3 separate regions of the Homo sapiens genome follow, and all the other regions are linked to region 1. The links are contacts of gene promoters, found by promoter capture Hi-C in blood cells and fetal thymus (Javierre and others, 2016). All regions are on one chromosome and are shown on one strand. The core of a region is centred on a gene start or on the middle of the fragment in contact, and the rest is flanking DNA. Distances in the headings are between cores, read along the strand shown.

What was found. The method cuts DNA at HindIII sites, captures the fragments that hold promoters and counts their contacts. A CHiCAGO score of 5 or more calls a contact.
Region 2: a contact is called between a fragment that was not itself captured here and the fragment with the promoter of POU3F2 in region 1, in 1 of 17 cell types (total B cells). The highest score is 8.9, in total B cells.
Region 3: a fragment that was not itself captured here is called in contact with the fragment with the promoter of POU3F2 in region 1 in 2 of 17 cell types (total B cells and naive B cells); the score reaches 10.7 in total B cells.

The regions. Positions count from the first base shown.
Region 1 is chr6:98,833,077-98,836,449 of GRCh38, forward strand. It overlaps POU3F2 (POU class 3 homeobox 2), which reads left to right and starts at 1,498. Exons shown (of 1, transcript NM_005604.4): 1 at 1,498-3,373. The coding sequence starts at 1,798. The coding sequence ends at 3,129. RefSeq lists a silencer at 1,439-1,508 and enhancers at 2,147-2,216, 2,215-2,811, 2,812-3,373. The HindIII fragment of the contact is 14,703 bases long and covers 1-3,373 here.
Region 2 is chr6:99,621,715-99,625,087 of GRCh38, forward strand. No RefSeq gene overlaps it. Among named protein-coding and RNA genes, the nearest start is that of PRDM13, 17 kb to the left of the region's middle. The HindIII fragment of the contact is 5,828 bases long and covers 1-3,373 here.
Region 3 is chr6:99,584,728-99,588,100 of GRCh38, forward strand. It overlaps the pseudogene TSTD3. Among named protein-coding and RNA genes, the nearest start is that of CCNC, 18 kb to the left of the region's middle. The HindIII fragment of the contact is 191 bases long and covers 1,431-1,621 here.

The sequences.
Region 1 (3,373 bases), core at 248-2,747:
ATCCAGGTTCCCTGGGGTCTGTCATTCCCTTCCCGGCAGTAACTGTTGATTCGCTTTACAGCGCCCATGTACACACCCGGCCCTGCGTGGCGGTCACGCCGCTCCAGCCTGGGTCCGCGCCCAAGTTCTAGCTACCGGGCTTGCAGGCTCGGAAACTCGCAGGCGGCACCTGCTCTGGGCGGCTAAAGAACTGATGGCGCGACGCGCCCGCGCTCCGTAGAGCGGCGCTGCGGGTGCATGGTCCCATAGTCTTGCTCTGGAGTTCACTGCTGAAAGCTGAGCTGGGAGCTTGGCCAGGGAGCGCCAAAGACATAGACTAACCCCACCCGCTAGCGCCCACCGAAGTTACTGATTAGGAAGGTTCCCCTGGCATCAGCCCATTTGCTTCACACACTCTTCCTCCTTCCCAAGGGGCTAACGGAAAAGTTGCACCTACCAGCGGTAGGAGCACGGGGAATCGCGCACGCAGGCCCTCCGCGCGGCTTCCCGGAGCGGCCTTTGGCGACTGCGCCGCCCCTACAAGGCCGCACACCCCTCGCCAGCACTCCGGCAGCCTCGCACAAGACGGAGCCCACGCAGGCTTCTAGTTTTCTAAACCAAAAACTGCACGCGCCGGCGTGTGAATCTGACGGAGAGACTTTTAGAGTTTTGTTTGGTTTTCAGTTCAGACCGCTACGCTGTCAGAGCAAGCAACTCCGAGCCTTGATGGGAATGACTTACAAGCCGCGGTGCGGGCTGAGCCTGCCTCTCTCGGGGTTCTTTCCCCAAGGGAGTGGGAGACAATTGGGCCTGGAACCTAAAAGGAAGAGAGCCTGTGCTAGCCGCGGGGTAGAGGGGAAGGAGAAGAGCTTTGGGCCGAAGTGTCCGCACACCCTGGAGCAAGAGACACTTGTGCACTGAAATTCTAACCGTGGGATGCAAGGAGAGTTGAACAGGGGAACAGGTCTGGCTCTTGGCTCTAGGTTTAAGAGATACACACTGTGTGTGTGTCCCTAGGTGAATAAAAATCCGACTCCCGCTGGCTCGGTGCGACCCAGCTTTTCCCTTACCCCCTCCGTTTCCCCATCTTAAAGCCCTATTGGGAAACGAAAGTGGACACCACTGCCTCCCGCCCCCCACCCCAATCCAAGTCTTCCAAGTGTCTGTGGCCGATAAGAGCACCGGGACCGCCCCCCTGCCGGTCTTCTCTGCCTGGGAGACAGATGGGGGGCGGGGCCCATCCGAGAGAGGGCGGAGGAGGCCCCGGGTGAGGAAGAAGCGGGGGGGTGAGAACTGAGAGAATCTGAATCGGGAGGCGAAGGGGACGGGGAGGAGGGCTAGGAGGACTCCGAGCCCGGGGGAGGGGGAGGGAGTAGCTCTGCGCCAATCAGTGGCGCCGGCCTGGGAGGTTGCTAGCGGTATCCACGTAAATCAAAGGGCGCGGAGCCAATGGGAGGGGGCGGAGGGGGCGGGGCCCAGGCGCGTGCCGCTGCGAGCCGGCGCTGCCAAGAGAGCGGGAGAGAGCTGGAGAGAGCAGGGAGAGGGGGGAGCGCCGAGCTAGTCAGAGAGTGAGCGAGAGCGAGAAGGAGGGAGAGGAGGAGAAAGAGAGCGAGGGCGGGCGGGAGGCGGCGGCGGCGGCAGCAGCAGCAGTAATAGCAGGAGCAGCAACAGAAGGCGTCGGAGCGGGCGTCGGAGCTGCCCGCTGTGGGAGAGAGAGGAGACAGAAAGAGCGAGCGAGGAGAGGGAGCCCGAGGCGAAAAAGTAACTGTCAAATGCGCGGCTCCTTTAACCGGAGCGCTCAGTCCGGCTCCGAGAGTCATGGCGACCGCAGCGTCTAACCACTACAGCCTGCTCACCTCCAGCGCCTCCATCGTGCACGCCGAGCCGCCCGGCGGCATGCAGCAGGGCGCGGGGGGCTACCGCGAAGCGCAGAGCCTGGTGCAGGGCGACTACGGCGCTCTGCAGAGCAACGGACACCCGCTCAGCCACGCTCACCAGTGGATCACCGCGCTGTCCCACGGCGGCGGCGGCGGGGGCGGTGGCGGCGGCGGGGGGGGCGGGGGCGGCGGCGGGGGCGGCGGCGACGGCTCCCCGTGGTCCACCAGCCCCCTGGGCCAGCCGGACATCAAGCCCTCGGTGGTGGTGCAGCAGGGCGGCCGCGGAGACGAGCTGCACGGGCCAGGCGCCCTGCAGCAGCAGCATCAGCAGCAGCAACAGCAACAGCAGCAGCAACAGCAGCAACAGCAGCAGCAGCAGCAGCAACAGCGGCCGCCGCATCTGGTGCACCACGCCGCTAACCACCACCCGGGACCCGGGGCATGGCGGAGCGCGGCGGCTGCAGCGCACCTCCCACCCTCCATGGGAGCGTCCAACGGCGGCTTGCTCTACTCGCAGCCCAGCTTCACGGTGAACGGCATGCTGGGCGCCGGCGGGCAGCCGGCCGGTCTGCACCACCACGGCCTGCGGGACGCGCACGACGAGCCACACCATGCCGACCACCACCCGCACCCGCACTCGCACCCACACCAGCAGCCGCCGCCCCCGCCGCCCCCGCAGGGTCCGCCTGGCCACCCAGGCGCGCACCACGACCCGCACTCGGACGAGGACACGCCGACCTCGGACGACCTGGAGCAGTTCGCCAAGCAGTTCAAGCAGCGGCGGATCAAACTGGGATTTACCCAAGCGGACGTGGGGCTGGCTCTGGGCACCCTGTATGGCAACGTGTTCTCGCAGACCACCATCTGCAGGTTTGAGGCCCTGCAGCTGAGCTTCAAGAACATGTGCAAGCTGAAGCCTTTGTTGAACAAGTGGTTGGAGGAGGCGGACTCGTCCTCGGGCAGCCCCACGAGCATAGACAAGATCGCAGCGCAAGGGCGCAAGCGGAAAAAGCGGACCTCCATCGAGGTGAGCGTCAAGGGGGCTCTGGAGAGCCATTTCCTCAAATGCCCCAAGCCCTCGGCCCAGGAGATCACCTCCCTCGCGGACAGCTTACAGCTGGAGAAGGAGGTGGTGAGAGTTTGGTTTTGTAACAGGAGACAGAAAGAGAAAAGGATGACCCCTCCCGGAGGGACTCTGCCGGGCGCCGAGGATGTGTACGGGGGGAGTAGGGACACTCCACCACACCACGGGGTGCAGACGCCCGTCCAGTGAACTCGAGCTGGGGGAGGGGCAGAGCGCGGGGCTCCCCCTCCCCTTCGGTCCTTGGCCCTTTCCCGGCCCTCTTGTTCCCTCTCTAACTTCTGATTGTTCTTTTATTTTTAATTATTATTTCCCCGTCCCTTAAAAAGACAAAAAAAATAAGGCAAAAGGAAAGCAACTAAGACACTGGACTATCCTTTAAAGGTAGCAGGTGTAATGATGTGTTTTGACCTTTGCAGGCGAGTAACCAGGCAAT
Region 2 (3,373 bases), core at 263-2,762, 790 kb after region 1:
ATGCTCAGGTGAGGTGGTTCATGCCCATAATTCCAGCACTTTGGGAGGCCAAGGCAGAAAGATCACTCTGAGGCCAGGAGATCAAGACCAACCTTGGCAACATAACGAGACTCCTGTATCTACCAAAAAAAAAAAAAAAAAAAAAAAAAAGGTAGGTTTTGCATTCTAAATAAGAAATATACTCAATTTTCAAAGAACAAAACTGTCTAAATAGGTATCTATCTAGGAGTCTTAATCCAATCTCATTTCTGTGCACTTCTGTCAGCTCATAGGTAATCAACCACGGGTAGAGGTACCACGAAGCTCACTGGCGTGAAATCCTTATATAAGACCTTGATATGGTCTGGCTGTGTTCCAGCCAAATCTCAACTTGAATTGTGTCTGCCAGAATTCCCAAGTGTTGTAGGAGGGACCCAGGGGGAGGTAATTGAATCATGGGGGCCGGTCTTTCCCATGCTATTCTCATGATACTGAATAAGTTTCAAGAGAGCTGATGGTTTATCAGGGGTTTCCGCTTTTGCTTCTTCCTCATTTTTTCTCTTGCTGCTGCCATGTAAGAAGTGCCTTTTGCCTCCCACCATGATTCTGAGGCTTCCTCAGCCATGTGGAACTGTAAGTCCAATTAAACCTCTTTTTCTTCCCAGTCTCAGGTATCAGCAGCATGAAAATGGACAAATACAGACCAGTACCTAATTCTGTGTTTTATTTCTTAAAGTAGATCCCCCAAATTCTATGAATTTCAAAACCAAAAAATCTTGATCTATACTTGTAATCACTTATTTTAGTTTCTTGTATACATCTAGTTTTCTTTTTGTAAATACAAATATCCAAGAATGAATGTATTTTTATTTTCTTCCCTGTCTTAAATATTTAATATTCACTCTTCTGTATCCTGCTTTTTATTCAAATTAATATACTGTGGAGAAATTTTCCATGATAATTCAAAGAGAGCCTCCTCACTTTTTTTTTCTTTTATTGCTACATAGTACTCTATTGTGTAGATGTAGAAAGACAGATTTAACCAATTCTCCTGTTGATGACCTTTGGGTTGTTTTCAATCTTTTATTACCTTAAAGACACTTCAATGAATAACTTGTGTTAAGTGATTTTGTAGGTGGGCTGCAGGTGTGTTTCATAAGGTGCTACTGCTTTGATTGCAGTGAGGAAAGAGCTATTGAGGATGCTGAGCTGGCCAGGACAGTGTCAGAATCAGACCAGCGTCTGGGAGAGGGATGATTGGCTGACTGTTCAACTGGTCCTTCTCTCCATAGTTGGAAAACTCAGAGTTACCTTTAGCTCTTGATCATACTCTGTACATAGGGAGACAACAATGGGGCCTCCACCCCATTCTTTTGTTCTCTTGGGAATTTGGCAAAGGATCCTTGGGAGGCCTTAGCTATAGAACTGTACCTCTCCAGGCCTAGCAATATAGAAATCCTAATGTTGGGCTCACATGGGAAAAGAGTATGTTTGCATGCACATGCATTTGAACTTTTAGTTTTTTCCTGTGAACACTATCACCAAATTTTGATTTCCCAATGATGCATATTATTTAAAAATACCTTATGTAAAACCGTCTTTGGGATTATGATTCAGACTTGTAACTGGATGACTAGAGCCTGAGCCTATGGTAAGTAGCAGGTACTGAGCACAACCCACACCAGCTGTAGAATAGTGACAAGCACTCCAGTAGGGAAAAAAACAAATGCAAATGAGATGTACTTGGCCATGGAACAAAGATGAAAATGACATTCACTTGTAAATGAGTTTTCTGTGTTTGATGTAAACAGAATGACATGTATTTTGCAGGAAGACCTCTATGACCTTCGGACAGTTGTTGAGTTCATTACATGTAGCTGCACATGTTTCTGACATTTCATTATTATTAATGTATCTCATGATCTAACCGTCTCTAGGTTTTTAATTTATTTAGAAGCATTTCCACAATTTTCTGTCCTAGGAGATGATCTTAGAGTTAAGGTGAGATGCTCATCATTGAAAGGTTAAATGCCCTGGAACACAGCTTGAATCTGACACTTTGCTCTTGGATAAGGAAACAGCTGATCTGATAGAATTCAAGAGCAAGAGGAAGACAATCAACTTCTCAGCTTTGCCATTTATAGCTAACCATGGTCCCCAGCCTAAGCATTTGCTCAAACATTAGATTTAGATTATTGATATGTGGCTTTGCTTTCTGAGCCTTGTACATCTTTCGACCCCATTTAAAATCTTCTCTTTTCTCTATAGCCTTCCCTGACTGTCCCAGCCCAAAACTTTAATACATACATTAGACATAGTAGATACTCAACAAATAGTTGAGAATTAGTTGATTAAACATTCTTTATTTCTTACTCTGAACATTGATGAAGCACTGAGAGCCCACTACATGCCAGGCACAGCACTGGCTGGGGACATATGGATGATTAAGATGGTCTCAAGCCAGGTGCAGTGGCTCACGTCTGTAATCCCAGCACTTTGGGAGGCCAAGATGGGCTGATCCATTGAGCTCAGGAGTGTGAGACCAGCCTGGGCAACATGGCAAGAACCCATCTTTATCAAAAATAGAAAAAGTCGGGCATGGTTGTGTGTGCCTGTGGTGCCAGCTACTCAGGAGGCTGAGGTGGGAGGATTGCTTCAGCCCAGGAGGCAGAGGTCTCACTCTAGCCTGGGTGGCAGAGTGAGACCCTGTCTAAAAACAAAACAAAACACAAAACAAAACAGAAAGATTGTCTCAAGCTCATGGTCTAGTGGAGAAGGCAAACATAAGAACAGAAATTGATAACACAATGTGGTGGGTATAGTGATGGAGATGAACACAGAGGAAGGGTACCTTCTTAGAGAGAGAAGGGTGAGGGCAGGGAAGGAGTTATATAGGAAAAGGCCTCCTGGAGGATGCAACACCTGAGCTGAGTCTTAAACAAGATGGGTAAGAGTCATCTAGGTCATGGTTAAAAGGAGAAGGAAGGACATTTCCAAGAGACAGAATAGCATGAGCATAGTGAGTGGGGAAGCAGCACGAATGTATATGAGGAATTCCAGGCATTACAGTGTTGCTATGGGGCAGAATGGCAAACAGGCAGTATTGCTGAGAGATGAAGATCCACCTGTGAGGAAGTGTGATGCAGTGGTTAAGAGAGTATGTGGGCTTTGGAGTTCAGTAGAGCTGAGTTTGCATCCTGCCTCTGCATCTTTCTACCTGTGAGAACTTGGTGAAACTACTTAACCTCTATATGCTTCAGTTTACTCATCTGTAAAATGGGAACAACAATGGCATTGTATTTAAAACATTCTTATGAGGGGTAATTGAAGTAATGTTTGCAAACTGCTTAACTCAGGTAAACATTAAAAGCATGTTGGCCAATTGTTATTGAGA
Region 3 (3,373 bases), core at 276-2,775, 750 kb after region 1:
GATTTGCTTTATTCATGGTAAACTTACTGAAGTGTTCTGATTTGAAAGGTATGAGTTTATTATCATACATTTGTGGGTACAGCAAGTTTGTTAATTATGTGGTTAAATATTTTATATTCTTACTGATCTTTTTGTCTGCTTTTTTCTGTCAGTTACTATGAGAGGTGTGTTAAAATCTCTCTCTGAAAGAAAGAAAGAAAGAAGAAAAGAAAGAAAGAAAGGAAAGAAAGAGAGAAAGAAAGAGACAACCGTGAAGCTTGCTGCATCAGTGGACTCTTCCTTTCACAAAACATTTTTCTGTAGTATGCTATGCTGTTTGACAGCATTTTACTCACAGTAGAACTGCTTTCAAAATTGGAGTCAGTCCTCTCAGGCCTTGCCAATACTTTCTCAACTAAGTTTATGTAGTATTGTAATTCCTTTGTTGTCATTTAAACAATGTTCATAGCATCTTCACCAGGAATAGATTCCATCTCAAGAAACCACTTTCTTTGAGCATTTATAAGAGGTACCTCCTTATCTGTTCAAGTCTGATCATGAGTTGCAGCAATTCAGTCACATTTTTAAGCTGCACTTCTAGTTCTCTTGCTAGTTCCACCACACCTGCACTTGCTTCCTCTACTGAAGTCTTGCACCCCTCAAAGTGATATATGATGGTTGGAATCAACTTTTTCCAAACTCCTGTGAATAACATGTTGCTATTTTAGCCTCTTCCCATGAGTTACAAATTTTTTTTAACACTTTAACTTTTTTTTTTTTTTGAGACAGAGTCTTGCTCTATTGCTCAGGCTAGAGTGCAGTGGCACAATCCCAGCTCACTGCAACCTCCACCTCCTGGGCTCAAATGATCCTACCACCTCAGCCTCTGAGTAGCTGGGACTACAGGTGCATGCCACCATGACCAGCAAATGTTTGTATTTTTTGTAGAGATGGGGTTTCACCATTTTGCCCAGGCTGGTCTCGAACTTCTGTGCTCAAGCAATCCATCCACCTTGGCCTCCCAAAGTGCTGGGATTACAGGTGTGAGCTACCATACCCAGCCCACAAATGTTCTTAATAGTTATGACAAATGATGAATCCTTTCCAGAAGATTTTCCTTTAAAGTTTGAAGCCAGGCATTGATTTCTCTCTAGCTATGAACGTCCTAGATGGCATCTTTTTCCAATAGAAGGCTGTTTCACCTACATAGAAAATCCATTGTTAAGTATAGCTACCTTCATCAGCAATCTTAGCTAGATCTTCTGGTTAGCTTGCTGCAGCTTCTGCATCAGCACTTGCTGCTTCACCTCACACTTTTATGTTTTGGAGACCACATCTTTCCTTAAATCTCATGAGCCAACCTCTGCTAGCTTCAAACTTTTCTTCTGCAGCTTTCTCACCTCTCTCACCCTTCACAGAATTAAAGAGAGTTAGCGCTTTGCTCTGGAATAAGCTTTGGTTTAAGGGAATATTGTGGCTAGTATGATTTTCTATTCAGACCACTCAAACTTTCTCTGCATCAGTAATAAAGCTGTTCTGCTTTCCTATCACTTGTATGGTCACAGGAACAACACTTTTAGTTTTCCTCAAGAACTTTTCCTTTGCATTCACAACTTGGCTAATGGTTTGGTGTAGGAGGCCAAGCTTTGTGCCTGTCTTGTCTTTCCACATGCCTTCCTCACTAAGCTTACCATTTCTAGCTTTTCATATAAAGTGAGAGACTTGCAACTTTTCTTTTCACTTGAACACTTTTACTTTTCACCCTACACTTAGAGGCCATTGTAGGGTGTAGCTGACCTAATTTCAACACTGCTGTGTCTCAGGGAATAGGGAGGCCTGAAGAGAGGGGAAGTGATGGGGACTGCCAGTCGGTAGAGCAGTCAGAACACACACATTTATCAATTATGTTTGCTGACTTATATAAATATAGTTCATGGAACCCCAAAAGAATTACAACAATAACACCACAGATTACTGATCGCAGATCACCATAACAGATAAATGGCACCAATAGATGTACTCAATGCAGAGTCACCACACACTTTCCATTGTAAACAGCACAATATCTGTGAAACACAATAAAATGAAGTGTGGCTGTAGAATGCTGCAGCCAGGAAGTAATTCCAGACTGTGTGCCTAGAGTGTGTATGACTTCTATATTATACTGATAGTGCCAAGAAGGAACAAAGCAGGTATGTGTCAACATTGAACATATTAAGGACCAGCAAATAGCACACTTCCACAGGCCTTCCTACTGTGCTGAGCTGCTAATAGGTTGTCAATAGATATTTATTGGTTAAGTTTTAAAATTTTTTTTCCTGTTGCGGAATGGTGGGCAGGACGCTGAGCTAAGTATCAGACCCAGATGCTAACAAGGGCTCCTCTATTCACCAACCATGTGGCTTTGGATAAGTAACTTATCTGACGCTCATTAAAAAAATTAGAATAATAATAACTGCTAGGCCTACTTCCTAATATTGGGACTATGTATGGAATTCTTCAGAAAATGTGATTTAAAAAAAACAACAACAAATGAAAAGCTTTACAGACCCAAAATCTAAGTTCAAAGAGGCCCACTAGACAGGGTACCACACTTCTGAAAAAAAGCAGCTCAACCTCTTAATTACAGACAGTAAACCAAATTCCACATCCCAGTAAAAGTCTGGCTAATAACTCAGGAATCTTTCATTTGGTCTTACTTCCCTGAACTTATTTTCCTGACTTTTTCATCTGACTCCATCACCCCTCCACCCAAATTAATCAGTTTCCTTTACAAAGTCATTTTCAGGAGCTGAAGTGAAAAAAGTATGCCTCCCAGAGGTTAGAATCTCAGGGGCATTCTGTTCAAAGAACACAGGAAGAAATACTTTGTCCTTTTTCTCTTAACTCAGGCCTCACAGGTCTTTTTGAAAGCCAGAAGCTAAAGTGGCTTAAGAGAAAGCTAGAAGTATTGGGGTAGTGGTGTTCCCACTTCAGGGTGAAGTTGTCAGGATGTACCTGTTTTATGATTCTAGTTCCTTTGATTGGCAGTCCTTGAACTAAATTAAAAACAGAGAAAAGTTCATATGATTTAAACTCATGATGCTTCTTTGTGAAAAGGGAAAATGAGACATGTTGTTAGCCCCAGCATCTCTTTTGAGATGGGGGTTTTACTATGTTGCCCAGGCTGGCCTCAAACTCCTGGATTCAAACTATCCTCCCCCGTAGGTGGAATTACAGGTGCATGCTACCGTGCTTGGCTATGGGCTTGTTTTTAATTGTTGGACGGTCTGGGTGCCCCTTTCACTTTATTCTTTTTTTCCGCTCTCACTTTTTTTTCCTCTCACTTATTAAGTCTTTGTCCTCTTTAAGTCCTCTTCTAAAAGACTGGAATTGCAGGTTACATTTATAACTA